2 separate regions of the Homo sapiens genome follow, and region 1 is linked to region 2. The links are contacts of gene promoters, found by promoter capture Hi-C in human tissues and cell types (Jung and others, 2019). All regions are on one chromosome and are shown on one strand. The core of a region is centred on a gene start or on the middle of the fragment in contact, and the rest is flanking DNA. Distances in the headings are between cores, read along the strand shown. Region 1 overlaps DPY19L4 (dpy-19 like 4). Region 2 holds the start of ESRP1 (epithelial splicing regulatory protein 1).

The links. The method cuts DNA at HindIII sites, captures the fragments that hold promoters and counts their contacts. A contact is called where the count stands out against the background at its distance.
Region 1: a fragment that was not itself captured here is called in contact with the fragment with the promoter of ESRP1 in region 2 in 1 of the 25 tissues and cell types used here (small bowel).

Annotation. Positions count from the first base shown.
Region 1 is chr8:94,786,285-94,793,184 of GRCh38, forward strand. It overlaps DPY19L4 (dpy-19 like 4), which reads left to right. Exons shown (of 19, transcript NM_181787.3): 18 at 1,610-1,768; 19 at 3,462-6,900. The coding sequence ends at 3,626. Among named protein-coding and RNA genes, the nearest start is that of INTS8, 34 kb to the right of the region's middle. The HindIII fragment of the contact is 8,042 bases long and covers 1,626-6,900 here.
Region 2 is chr8:94,636,510-94,643,570 of GRCh38, forward strand. It overlaps ESRP1 (epithelial splicing regulatory protein 1), which reads left to right and starts at 4,665. Exons shown (of 16, transcript NM_017697.4): 1 at 4,665-4,941; 2 at 5,447-5,575; 3 at 6,794-6,907. The coding sequence starts at 4,810. LINC02894 (long intergenic non-protein coding RNA 2894) reads right to left here and starts at 2,958. Exons shown (of 1, transcript NR_034034.1): 1 at 776-2,958. RefSeq lists an enhancer at 6,003-6,092. The HindIII fragment of the contact is 5,400 bases long and covers 3,347-7,061 here.

The sequences.
Region 1 (6,900 bases), core at 4,397-6,896, 150 kb after region 2:
CCTGGCTAATTTTTTATGTTAGTAGAGACAGGGTTTCATCATGTTGCCCAGGCTGGTCTTGAACTCCTGAGCTCAGGCAATCCGCCTACCCCTGCCTCCCAAAGTGCTAGGATTACAGGAGTGAGCTACCATGCCCGGCCATTTATTTATTTATTTATTTATTTATTTTTAATTAATTTATTTTTTTGAGATAGAGTCTCACTCTGGTACGGTATGGATTTAAATGGTAACTTCATATCTGAAAGCAATGATGAACTGAACCTAAGTTCCCAATATTCTGTTTTTCAATTTTAGAGAATTTCGTAAAGGCTGGAGTGCAGTGGCATGATCTCGGCTCACTGCAACCTCCATCTCCCAGGTTTAAGCAATTCTCCTGCCTCAGACTCCCGAGTAGCTGGGACTACTGGTGCATGCCACCGCACCCAGCTAATTTTTGTATTTTTAGTAGAGATGGGGTTTTGCCATGTTAGCCAGGCTGGCCTCAAACTCCTGATCTCAAGTGATCCGCCTCCCTGGGTCTCCCAAAGTGCTGGGATTACAGGCGTGAGACACTGCGCCTGGCCAACCATATCATTTAAATTACACAGAGTCTCTAATTCATAATATGTGGCTAATCCTTATATAATCCCCTGGGCCAGTGATTCTTAACCTGGGAGAATTGTTCCCCGAGGGGACATTTGGCAGTGTCTGGAGACATTTTTGGTTGTCTCAATGTCATAACTGGAAGAGGGGTTCTACGAGCATCTTGTGGGTAGAGACCAGGAATGCTGATCTACATTGCAGAGAACATCCTCCCTTGTGTCCCAACAAAGAATGATCTGGCCTAAAATGTGAATAGTGCCAAGGTTGAGAAACTGTGCTGTAGGCTATCAGTAATGTTGTTACAATCGCATAGAAGTGGTTTTTTTTTAATGCCCCAATAGTATGTTTCAGTTTCTTAACACTTAAAAATAAATAAAATTGTAAATAACTATGAATAGGTATAGGCTAGATAGGATAGAACCATTCCCACTGAAACGTATTTAGTGTAGTGAAATGAGGGAGACACTTCCTCTTGATGTATTGGCATTCTGTGTGCCACAGAATGTTGAAGGTGGGTATTCCTAGCATGTCAGTGGACGTGGGAACTGAAGGTACTAGATAGGCAGCTATGGTGACAGGTAGGAGGCAGCTACTGGATATTCTGCAAATAGATTGGAATCTTATTCATTCTAGATTTCAAATCTCAGTATTTTCAGGACAAATAGTATATGATACTATGGGCCTAATATTTGTGGTTTTACTACTTTTTGAAGGATATCAAGAGTTGATCCAATATTAACATTTCAGAAAGACTGAAAAGCTTTATTATCTAATAAGATCCAGAGCTTATTATCTAATAAGTTCAGAAAAATTATAGTAAAAAGCACCACATAATCCAAACATGAGTTTTGATATATAGATGAATATTTACATTTATTTATAAAAATAAATATATTTTTCATATATAATCGTACTTAGAACACAGTAGATGCTTGATGTATAGTTTCAATTTACTGAAGTTTTAAATGTCCTTTAAATTTTATTTTAATTATATTCTTTCAGTTTTATTTTAATTATATTCTTTCAGATCTACCAAATCTATTCAAAGCGATCTGCTGAGGATATTTATAAAATACTGACATCTTACAAAGCTAATTACCTAATTGTAGAGGATGCTATCTGCAATGAGGTGGGACCCATGAGAGGCTGTAGGGTTAAAGATTTATTAGACATTGCAAATGGCCACGTAAGTAACCATTTGGAAAGTTATATATATGTATATATATATATTTTTTTTTTAGAAAAATGACTTTAAACTTATAATCTTTAAACTTTATTTTTAGAACTTAACTAAGAATATAATTGAGTTATGTAATAATGGGGAAAGCTTCTTAAAAGTAGTTTGGAGTATTTTTTCAACATACAAAAGAAAATCTGGGCATTTTTGCAAAAATAATAAAAAATAATAATGGTATTACCAATACTGGAATTCCTTATTCATTGCCTGTACTTATTCAGGTTTCAACATTCATAAACAAAAGATGGCATAATTTGATTTGAATGATGATTTTATTTTATTATAATAATCTAAAGAGCAACTGGTTACCTTGTTATATTCTTATGTTGAGAAATTTCTTGTAATTTGATTCATATCTAGAAAAATTGCATGCTAAATTAACACAGTGCCTGTACATTGAGTCCCTATTATCCACAAAAACGAATGTATTAAAAGCCATGTTAGTTGTTAGGACTTGGCTGTATCTTAATTTCTATATTGATTTCGGCTGTTTTACCAAGCTGTGTTTTCCACAAGAAGACCACCTAAGACTGACGCACGCGCGCGCGCATGTGTCTTCCCCCCCAGCCCCCATGGCCTTCCAATGAAGGCAGTGTGTATATCTGAGACTTAATGCTAGCTGGAATGGATTCTTGACTCCTGAGAAAGCTGGGAGTGAGGGATCATAAGAAAAGTTTAGTAAGTCATTGTAAGTGGTAGTAGATATACTATTCAGGTTGCAGCCAAGATTTTTTCTGTCTTTTCCTAAATAATCATAGCTCTTTGTCTTATCCAAGATCAGTTTGGAGGTAAGAAATTACTTTTTGTGATTTCTACTTATCTTTTCCTCATGACCCCTTAATCTTGTAATATAAACTTACTCTGTTTTATGGTACATGTATTTTGAATTTCTCTGTTGGTACTTAGTGGCTGTGATCTTTGGTTTACTGGTGACACAAATGGAATTTTATGAAGCCTCGGGTACAGTTTCAGTAATTGGTGCTGTCTTGCTATCTGCTCTCTGAAGCCTTTCTATTCTGCTCTGATACCCACTTTTCTGCTGTTTTGAAGATCAGCTTACTTCTCCTTTCATGTCATGCCTGGCATGGACTTAAGCTAATCCATCCTTTTAAAGTTGGCTATCTGACATCTTTCATAGCCATTAAAATATTACTTAATTTTTTTTATAAAAACTTCTTCAAGCTAACTAAGCTATCTTAGTGAACATCATTCGGTGAAATTGTAAAGGTCTGCACTAAGTCACGAAAGTTTCCTTGCTTACTAAATAATTCTACACGAGAAGAGTGAATATATTTAGGAATATAATATGTTCATTTCTCAGCCTTGGTAGGGTGCATGATAAGGTCTTCGGAGCGATGATAATGGATTATGGAAACACTGCCTTCTAAATTTTAGGATTAAATCTTTTAAAAATTGGAAACCTTTGTGCTGGTTTCTCAGTGTCAATGAGAAGTTCAGGAGTATAGTGGGCATGGTGACTCACTTATGAAGAAGGCTTCTATTTGCTAACAGTGAGATGTTTTATAGACAATGTTTAGCAATAATGTGTTTTTTCATATAAATATACTCATTTGTATATTGATTGCATTTCTGCTATAAGCTTAATAAGCTTTTTAATATTATGTTTTATATCTTTTAATAGATGGTTTGTGAAGAAGGTGACAAGCTAACCTACTCAAAATATGGGCGATTTTGTCATGAGGTCAAAATTAACTATTCTCCATATGTGAATTATTTCACTAGAGTATACTGGAACAGATCCTACTTTGTATATAAAATCAACACTGTGATATCCTTCCAGTCTTGAAAAATAACAGAGCCTTCATTTCAAAGACTACCTGAAGTAAAATGCAGTTTTCTTCTACCTACTCGGTGTCTTTTGCAGATCAGAGTATGGACATTTGAAATATTGCTGCTTCTTTCCCCCTTCTGCTGTTAACTGGATCCAGAGTTCTGTGGGAAATAGAAGATCAAGCATTACTGTCCTTTGATTAAATGTGATATCTACCACTCTGCAATATTCCAGACAGGTGTCTTCCTTACCGTTACATGGTCTTTAACACTTTTACTGATTGCAATATTTTCCCCATAAAATCTTCATTCTATTATAATATTGATCTTGAATTTGAATATGTGCAAGGTCAGATACATTTCTCAAACATAACATTTAATAAATAATGTGATATAATTATTTAATAGAAAGAATAATTCCGACCTTCAAGCAAGTTTCTGAAGGTATTTTATGATGTATAACAACTGAAGTTTTACAATAAAAACTAATTTAAATGTTAGCTGAAGATATGTGGCATTTAAATTAAAATGGAAATTATATAAAGGAAAGTGATTTTTAAGGATATACATAAAGATATATTTAGAATTTTCATGATACTGTTCTCCTCATCTACTGCTTATGTTAAGTGAGAACTTTCTTAGTAATACATAATGCATGATGTTACTGCATTTTCTAAATGACTAGTAAGTGATTAGTTTTTTCACTTATGCCTATTAATTTGATACCAATTTAATCATGATAAAACAATAACCGTTAACATATATTTTGTTAAATGGACATTTAAAAGAATGTTGTTCAGGTTTTTTTTTTAAATACTGATATGGGGCATACAATCTATTCACATGTTTTCTACTGAAGTACTAAGTAAAAAAATTAAATCATTATCAGAATAAAAATATGTGTTCTAAAATTAGCAACAATTTCTGGGGATACATGCAGATGTTGTTAAACGTACCTCTGCATACAGATATATTATAAAACACAAGCAATGTTATTTATGAAACTGTGATGCAGTCTTCAACATCAAGAAAAAATGACAACTATAATAAAATTTACAACACAGTTTCACAGTCTAAATGCTATGTTCCTTTAAGTATTTTCATATTTTTAATCATTTATTAAGAGAAAATTGTGAAAAGTTAATTTGGCCTTATAGAGAGATTCAGGATAGATGTAGCCTATAGATGTGTCATTTTAATAAGTTGGGATACATGTTTAGTTTTTCCTTATATTCCTGTTCAGTGAACAGATTTTCATAATTCTCACTTGTTAAAGTGCTGCAAAAATTGCATTTTCAGTACTCTAAATTACTACATTAGAAGAGAGCATTTCTCCATTGTCTTTATTTTCTGTTATATATGTGTTGTAAAAGTACACTACATTAGAAGGGAGCTTTTCCGTTGTCTTTATTTTCTGTTATACATGTGTTGTTAAAGTACATGCATTCTTAGACTAACTCTCAGATGCTTTGCTCTTTTGGAGCTGAAGAATTGTTTGATGGTGATGTCATATATCTGATAGATTAGTTTCAGTGGTTCTCATTTCACTTTTATACGTAATTTCTTAACTATATTAAGATAGTTGCAGGCAGTGTACCTCAGGTTGACTCTGTACATCTGAATAGTGAGTCACTAGTATTTTGCTTCAAGCCTTCTGAAAATATAACCATAGTTACCTAAGCACACAGTGAATAGTCACATGGTAGTACTTGTGATTAGAGCATGTAAAACAATGTAATTGAAAAGTCAGCTTCCATATTTTGTAGGGGAAATAGAACACCCTACTTTTTATCTAGTGTGAAATATTTAATCGAATTTTTGTTGATTTATATTATGTTACCTGTGCTGAATTAGGTTTGGTACTTGTGTTTTGTTTGACATATTAGTAAGTTGCTTTTGCTTCTTTCTGTCAACTTATTTTTTAAATAAAATTGATCTGGAAAAATTGTTAATGGGATGTTTTAAATAATGAATTTTTCATCCAGCATCAGTTGAAAAGGAAAAGAAAGCTTCATTATGGAAATGACAATATTGAATATGACAGATAAGTTTATTTGCTTCTGTTTTAACTGCAGTTAATAGTACTAGACAACTTTAAGTGGAAAGCATTTAGTTTATTTCTTCACTTATTTGTAGAGTGAACAAATGATTCACAATTCTACAAGTAATTCCACTTAGGTAACTTACAGTTGTTAGGTTTGACAATAAAGATCTACTATGAGAGGAGAAGAATTTATGGGTTTTGGGTGGAAGGAATTTCTCAAAGAAATAAAAAATGTTCTTTGCCCTTGATACTGCAAACCCACTGATACAAGTGCCTTGAATTTATTATTATTATTATTTTTTATTTTTTTGAGATGGAGTTTCACTCTTGTCTCCCAGGCTGGAGTGCAATGGCGCGATCTTGGCTCACTGCAACCTCCGCTCGCTGCAACCTCCGCCTCCCAGGTTCAAGTGATTCTCCTGCCTCAGCCTCCGGAGTAGCTGGGATTACAGGCACCTGCCACCAAGCACGGCTAATTTTTGTATTTTTAGTAGAAACGGGGTTTCGCCATGTTGGCCAGGCTGGTCTCGAACTCCTGACCTCAGATGATCCACTCACCCCAGCCTCCCAAAGTGCTGGGATTACAGACGTGAGCCACTGCGCCCGGCGCAAGTCTTTGTTAAAAGTAGAGATGGAGGCCAGGCGCAGTGGCTCACTCCTGTAATCCCAGCACTTTGGGAGGCTGAGGCAGGCAGATCACGAGGTCAGGAGATCGAGACCATCTTGGCTAACACGGTGAAACCCCGTCTCTACTGAAAATACAAAAAATTAGCCGGGCAGGGTGGCGGGCGCCTGTAGTCCCAGCTACTCCGAGGCTGAAGCAGGAGAATGGCGTCAAGCGGCGAGGCGGAGCTTGCGGTGAGCCGAGATCATGCCGCTGCACTCCAGCCTGGGCAACAGAGCAAGACTCCATCTCAAAAAGAAAAAAAAAGTAGAGATGGGATCTCTAGCCTCCTAAGTTAATTTAGCCTCCCAAATGCCAGACAAAGAATCTAACATAAAATTTACCTTGAATAAGATATATGATATTGATTCTGAGCTGCTTTGTATTTTTTCTGACTTTGGCATCTGTATCTTGGTGCTTTCTGTTAGACTGGTAGAGTTTAAGAACCTAAGGAGTATGCATTGTACTTCAGTGCTAACTTTTTTCTTCATTTACTTTCTGTGTATATAGGCAGCATATTTTTTTTGTAGAACATTAACCCAGATTGCTAATAGCTTCATGTTACGGCATTCTTCCACACAG
Region 2 (7,061 bases), core at 3,415-5,914:
CCACACCCGGCCTACCTTTTTTTTTTTGGAGATGGAGTCTCCCTTTGTTGCCCAGGCTGGAGTGCAGTGGCACAATCTTGGCTCACTGCAACCTCTGCTTCCTGGGTTCAAGTGATTCTCCTGCCTCAGCCTCCCCGAGTAGCTGGGACTACAGGAGTGCACCACCATGCCCAGCTGATTTTTTTTGTATTTTTAGTAGAGACGAGGTTTCACCATGTTGGCCAGGCTGGTCTCAAACTCTTGACCTCAGGTGATCTGCCCGCCTTGGCCTCCCAAAGTGCTGGGATTACAGGTGTGAGCCACCATGCCCGGCCTTACATTTTTACTTATATCTCTGGAATAAAAATAATTGAATCTCAAAAAAATAAAAAAAGATTATGACATATAGGTACCACTGTGTCAACAGTGAAGCCCCAGCAGACACATTTGTATTCTGTCCAGTTCAAGAGCTGCTCTCTAAAAGTGATGAGAAAAAGGGTCAAAGGAGGGTAATGAAGATAATTAAAGAGCAGGAAAGTAAGATTCACAATGAAAACTTTAAAGAGTTTGCAGTTATTTAGTCTAGGAAAGGTGAGTTAAGAACGACCTTAAAGTATATGAACGGATTACTATACAGAAAATGGTGACCTTTTCTTTCACCCTCTTTCATTCACTAAGGAAAAAACAAAGAAAATGGGTTTATTTTACAGTACAAGTAGTTAGATTAGCAGAAAAAAAAGTCATGACACAGAGCCTTGTCAACCACCAGCAAGGCGGTGGCAGCAAAATGTCCTCTGAGGCTTAAAAAAATTATTTTTAATTTGAAATAATTTTAGACTTACAGAAAAGTTAATAATTCCCTTATACAGATTCCCCAATGTTAACATTTTATTGCGTTTGCTTTATCATTCCCTTTACATATATTTTGTCTGAACCTTTTGAGCATAAGTTACAGACATGATTCCTCTTTACCCCTAAATACTTCAGTAGATACTTCCACCAACAAAGACACTCTCTTGCCCAACCACAGTAATATTACAACAAATGGGAAATTAACATGGATATAAAACTATTATCTAATCTACAGATCTTTTTATTTTTTTATTTTTTACTTTTTCTGGTTCAGGATCATGTCTCTTAAAGTCCTTTAATCTGCAAAAGTTCTTCTTCAGTCTTTGTCTTTGATGGCTTTCATGTATGTAAGAGTACAGGCCAGTTATTTTATAGGCTGTTCCTCAACTTGGGTCTCTGGCGCTTAAAAACAAAACAACAGAATCTCAACGTTTTGAGAATTTTAGGTGTGGTCCTGAGCCAATACTTAAATAAGCCTCTCTCCTCAAGGTTCTTTCCAGCCACCTTACACAGATTATCCTTAGTGAATTAGATTTATAGATGGTGGTGATAGACAGTAAAACATTTTTGTATTCAGAACTGTCTTGAATTACATATATTCCAACCCCTCCACCACATTTTACCATTTTAATTTAACAAAAGTAAGTTTGTTGAAGAATGAGCACATACTCTTTAAACATTTAAGTCTTAAATTACCTGTAGACTCCCATTTTGACAATCTCACCCCTGCAGTGATGACCTATGCCCTAGGCTCAGAAGACAAAGATCTGCAAAAATGGGTGTTACTCATTACAATCATTCAACAAATATTTGTTGAGTGCCTAGTATATGTCAGGCTCTGTTCCAAGCCCTGGGAATACATTTGAGAACAACAACAACAACAACAACAAAATCCTCATCCTTGAAAATCTAGTTGGAAAGATTAACCTTTTTTTTTGAGATGGAGTCTCACTCTGTTGCCCACGCTGGAGTGCAATGGCCAGATCTCGGCTCACTGCAACCCCCCGCCTCCCAGGTTCAAGCGATTCTCCTGCCTCAGCCTCCCGAGCAGCTGGGATTACAGGTGCGCGCCACCCCGCCCGGCTAATTTTTGTGTTTTTAGTAGAGACGGGGTTTCACCATGTTGGTCAGGCTGGTCTCGAACTCCTGACCTCGTGATCCGCCTCGGCCTCCCAAAGTGCTGGGATTACAGGCGTGAGCCACCGCGCCCGGCCCAGAAAGATTAACTTTTAAATTAAAAAAAAAAAAAAAATCAGAAACCGGGATTAGACTTCCCTTAAGTCATTCATGCCGGAGGTTGCAAATTCTTTTTGTGAAAAATCACACCTTAGCGATGACCTTGAGCAGTAGGATGTAAACAACTCCCACAAGCTTAGCGTTCCAATAACGGAACACAAGGCATAAACTAAACAGGAAGAAGGCAAGTCTGTGTGAATATGTTCAACTCCAAGACTCAAGATTCTAATGTGGATACTACTGCGGAATTCCTGTTAAACGCGCTGATTTAATAAAGTCTTCGGTTTATCCAAACGGGCTACACAAATGATTAATCCAAACTCCAAAGACCTAGAAAGAACAGGCGGGGCCGGGTTTCCTCAAGTGTTCCAACCACTTTTTCAGCAAGAGTCACCTGCTTGGCGACGAGCCTCCGGACCGCCCCGCGCTATCTGTTCCACCCGGCGGGGGCCACGCACGGGGTTCCGCGTCCCTGTGAGGCGGCACCTCCTGGGCCCAGCAGAGCTGAGCACCTGGGAACCGCGCACCGAGAGCCCCACGGGGAGGTGGTTAGGGGGAACCGGCTCCTCCAGGCGGCCTCGCCCACTGCAATGCAATCTGGGTGGTTTTTCCAGGTCCCTCCCTGCCTCGTTCCGCGCCCAGTCCCTGCCCCCGCGACGCCCGAGGGCCTGGACGGGTAGCTCGGAGTTACCGGGGCTGGGGAGGAGCGAGGCTACTGCAGTAAGCCAGCCGGAACCCATTTATGACTCCGCACTCTGAAGTTCAGGACAGGGAAGCACCCACCTCTGGAACTCAAGCAGTGGACGAGGGAGGTCCCGAGCGCCGTCGCAGCGCTGCGAGTGTGGGACCCTGGCCTTCGCCCGCTCTCAGGGGACGAGAGCTGCCACCTGTATCACGGGAGGCCCCGCCTCCGCCTGCACCTTCTCCTACCAGGAAACGAGACGGCGCGGGCCTCGGGCTCCTCTCCCCCCTCCCGGGAGCTGAACCCCCACTGGGAAAGCCAGGTCTCCAGCTTCCCTTGACACGCGTCTTGAAAGGTTACCGGATTTGTACCCGGAGTGGGTTCTGCAGGGATAGGTGCATGGTTGCCCGTTTCACATCATGAATATGAACGGGGCTGGACACCTAGAGCCGAATTATTAATACTTCAGACAGAATTCTGTTCCCAAGAACAAATCGCTTTGAGATATAAAACCCGAGAAAACTTCACCTCTGGCGCTTTTCTCTCTAAAATGTCAACAAGACCCAACAACATACTGCCACCGATCTGGTGGCTGGGGGGTGATGGTTGGGGTACGAGCCTCTGGGCAGACCAAGCTGAGGTGGAGCAGGGAGGTTGTTTGGGAGCTTGGTCAAGTCAACACACTCCAATACAATGCCAAAAGCATGAGCAGAGGGAATGGGGTCAGGGCGCAGAACCTGGGAAAAAGCCTGCGTGGCCCGATTTAAGAAAATTTTTATTAGGCATGCGGATAGATGCTTTTCATTTGGGGCCCAAGGCAAATAAAAGGAAATGGGCCCCAGCTCTGGAGGATGTTCCAGCTTCGAACTAGCAGCCAGGACCAAACCAGACATAGCATTCAGAGTTGACAGAAAAAGAAGCGGGCTCCATTGTGCCTGAGTTTCCTTGCGGGGTCCCCCAGCTGCTTTGCGCGCGATAACTGCGTCCTGGGGAGTGACTAGGTGGTTGGGCGTCCAGCCCCTGGCGTCCGGCTCTGCCGCGCGCGGGGTTCCTCTCCGGAAGGTGGGCAGCGCGGCGGGTTTGGGACGAGCGTGCACCCGGGCTCCGGCCCGGAGAAGGGGGGGCTCGCAGGATTTCTCCTGCTGTTTGCACTGAAAGTTGTGTTGGCTCAGGAGCTGCTTTTCCGGGGATCTGCAGTTGCCCCCGCCACCTCCTGGCTGCGGTTGGCAGGTCCCTCCCTCAGCAGTTCGTCCTCCGCCTGCGCCGCGCCCTGGGCAGCTCCGCGCCCCGGGCCTCACCTCTGGCCTCCTTTCGCCTCCCTGCACCTGGCCTTTTCGCTTGACCGTTCAGAACCTTCGGCTTCGTTCCCTGCAGCCGGTATTCTCCGAGCCCCCCTGCACCTCTCAGTTACCTCCAGTGGGAACCCCTCCCCCCAGCGACTCCGAGCCCTTTACCTCTCTGAGCCCTTTCCCCGTCTGGCCTCGTCTACCCTCTGGGTGTCAACCGCCTCTTCCCTGCCCCTCACGTCTCCCCCTCCTCCTCCCCTGCCCTCGCCTCTCCATTCATCCAGCCATTGTCTCCCGCCCCTTCCTCCCCCTCCCGAAGCGGCCTCCTCCCCCACCGCTGCCACGTCGTGGTTTGAAGGAGCCAATGGGCCGGCGCCGCCAGGTGTCTCTTACCTGCACCACGTGGGGGAGGGGGAAGGGGCGGGCAGGTAAAGCCACATCCCAAAACAGAAAAGCTTTCAGCCATTGCGTGCCTCCCGGGGGGGGCAGCCTTGCTCCAGGCTTTTTGCATAGACGCCCGGGCAACTGAATACAAAAAGGGCAGGCCTCCTGCGCCCTCCTTCCCACCCCCCTTCCTGCCCTGGGCGTGGAGCACCGACCAGGTGTGGGCTTGGGTGGTTGGTTACCGCCTTTTGCACTAGCAGTAGCAAGGAAGGGGGGTGGGCGCTCTTTCTTTTTCTCTTAGAAGAGGGTTTAGCACAGGTTTTTTCGTTCTCACTTCCACACCACCTTACCGCCTCCCGACCCCCCCTCTCCCCCTCCCCACCTATCGTCATGACGGCCTCTCCGGATTACTTGGTGGTGCTTTTTGGGATCACTGCTGGGGCCACCGGGGCCAAGCTAGGCTCGGATGAGAAGGAGTTGATCCTGCTGTTCTGGAAAGTCGTGGATCTGGCCAACAAGAAGGTATTTCTCCACATTTTCGTCTAAATGCAAGGAATGGGGCAAGAAGTTTGTGGTAGAGGTTTGGGCGGGGAGGGGGGTGGAGGTAAGTAAATAAGTGCTCTTGTTTGCCCACTTGTGAGTCTGGACCCGAGGCCTAGGGAAGCTAGAGTAAAACCAAACTTATTGGCCAACTGCCTTGGAGCCATTTCAGTCCTCCGCAACTTAGCTCAGGTGGAGAGGCCGGCGCTACCGAGCCGGGTTCTTTGCCCGTCGGGGGACGCTCCGCCGAGACGAGGTGGGGTCTCGGAGGCCCCGGGGTCCACTTCCAGGGCTTTTCCGACCTATCGGGTGGGGGGTGGGGCGGGGGGCAGGAACGCACCGGAACCGATGGCGAGTCGAGAGCTTTGATTCTGCGTCCGGACCCCAAGAGAGGCGCGGGCCGCCCCAGCAGGGGAGCGAGGGAGGAGGGTGCAGAAAGAGGCTCCGAAATTGGGGGAAACTGACCCGTGCTTCTCTACCTTCGGAGGTGGGACAGTTGCACGAAGTGCTAGTTAGACCGGATCAGTTGGAACTGACGGAGGACTGCAAAGAAGAAACTAAAATAGACGTCGAAAGCCTGTCCTCGGCGTCGCAGCTGGACCAAGCCCTCCGACAGGTGACAACCCCGGGTCACGCCACCCACCCCAGCCTGGGCCCAACCCCACCGCACCCTACGCCCTCTCAGGGCGGCCCACGCGTGTTCCCGGAGCAGGGTGGCGAGACGCCTGCCCGGCCGCGTGGGTGGGAGCCCAGCCTGAGGGCCGGGGCGCACCGTTTGGGCGGGGGTCGCTGCTTCTCTTCATCTCCCAGCCCCCAGGGTTTGGGACCGACATTCACTAGTTTTCGAGTTGCTTCCTGAGTAGTTACTGGAGCCGGAGAGTCAGCTCCATTTTGCCAATTGATTGACGTGCGGAGTTTGAATCCTAGCGCCCCCATCTCCAGGTCCAGACCCCAGACGCGCCGCTCCCCTGCGGGGTTTGGGCCCACAGCCTTCGGGCAGGGGGCGCTGTGGCGTAGACGTGCAGGTGGGCCCGGCGGGTGTGCAAGAAGTAGCACTGTGGGTTGGAACCTGAAGGTGCCTGCCTGGTTTCAGGCTTCTGAACTCCCAACGAAAGGCTCGGTCCGTCATTATTTCTTTAGTGGCCTTGGTCCCACTGCCAGGGAGGTTTTTCAGGTCCGAACGTGCAAGGCTGCCCGTTGTGTCACTGCGGAACTGATGGAATCCCCTTATTAGGACTGAGGTGACCTAAAAACCGGCTGTTCCGGGGTGCTGACGGGTGCCGGATCGGGTAGGGCGGGGCGCTAAACACCTGTGCACAGATGAATGCTCTGCGTTCTCACGACCTCTGCCCTAGCACACGAGCTTCGAGTTATAGGAGAAAGCTATCCTTCCTGGGGTGTATTCATCCAAGACTTTCCAGATCTGTATACCCAATACCCGTATTTGTTTATTAGAAGCTGGCATCTTTCTTAAGCCTGGCACATCCAAACATATAAAAAGTAACACTAGGGAATGATGTAATCTGCAGGCAACCTGCTGATGAAATGAGACATCTGACTTAAGTCTTGAATGAATTTTTTTTGTAAAAACAGAAGGGAGAATGCATTGACAAGTTTCTCCTGGGCGCGAACTGCGGATTGATTGGAAAGCTTCCCTACCTCGAGGAAGCTAGACGGTTCGTGGGAAAGGAGTCTGTCCAAGGTTGCCCCAGCACCGGTGTCACCCATCAGGGCCCTTATTGCGGTTTTCTCTGGCTATCACCAAGGGGAGCTACTTTGCAGAGTTTGTAAATCGTGCATCAGTTGCATCCCTATGTGTATCTTGTTCTTGCAGTTTAACCAGTCAGTGAGCAATGAACTGAATATTGGAGTAGGGACTTCCTTCTGTCTCTGTACTGATGGGCAGCTTCATGTCAGGCAAATCCTGCATCCTGAGGCTTCCAAGAAGGTAAGAGTGCTGGCTTCTGGGAAAAAAATGGTTGGAGCTTTGGGGTGACTGGAGGTTTTTAAAAATTTTTGGTTTATTCAAGTTTCTCTGTTCTTAAAAAGATGCATATAGGGAGTTATTTAATGAGTACAGAATTTCAGTTTGGGAAGATGAA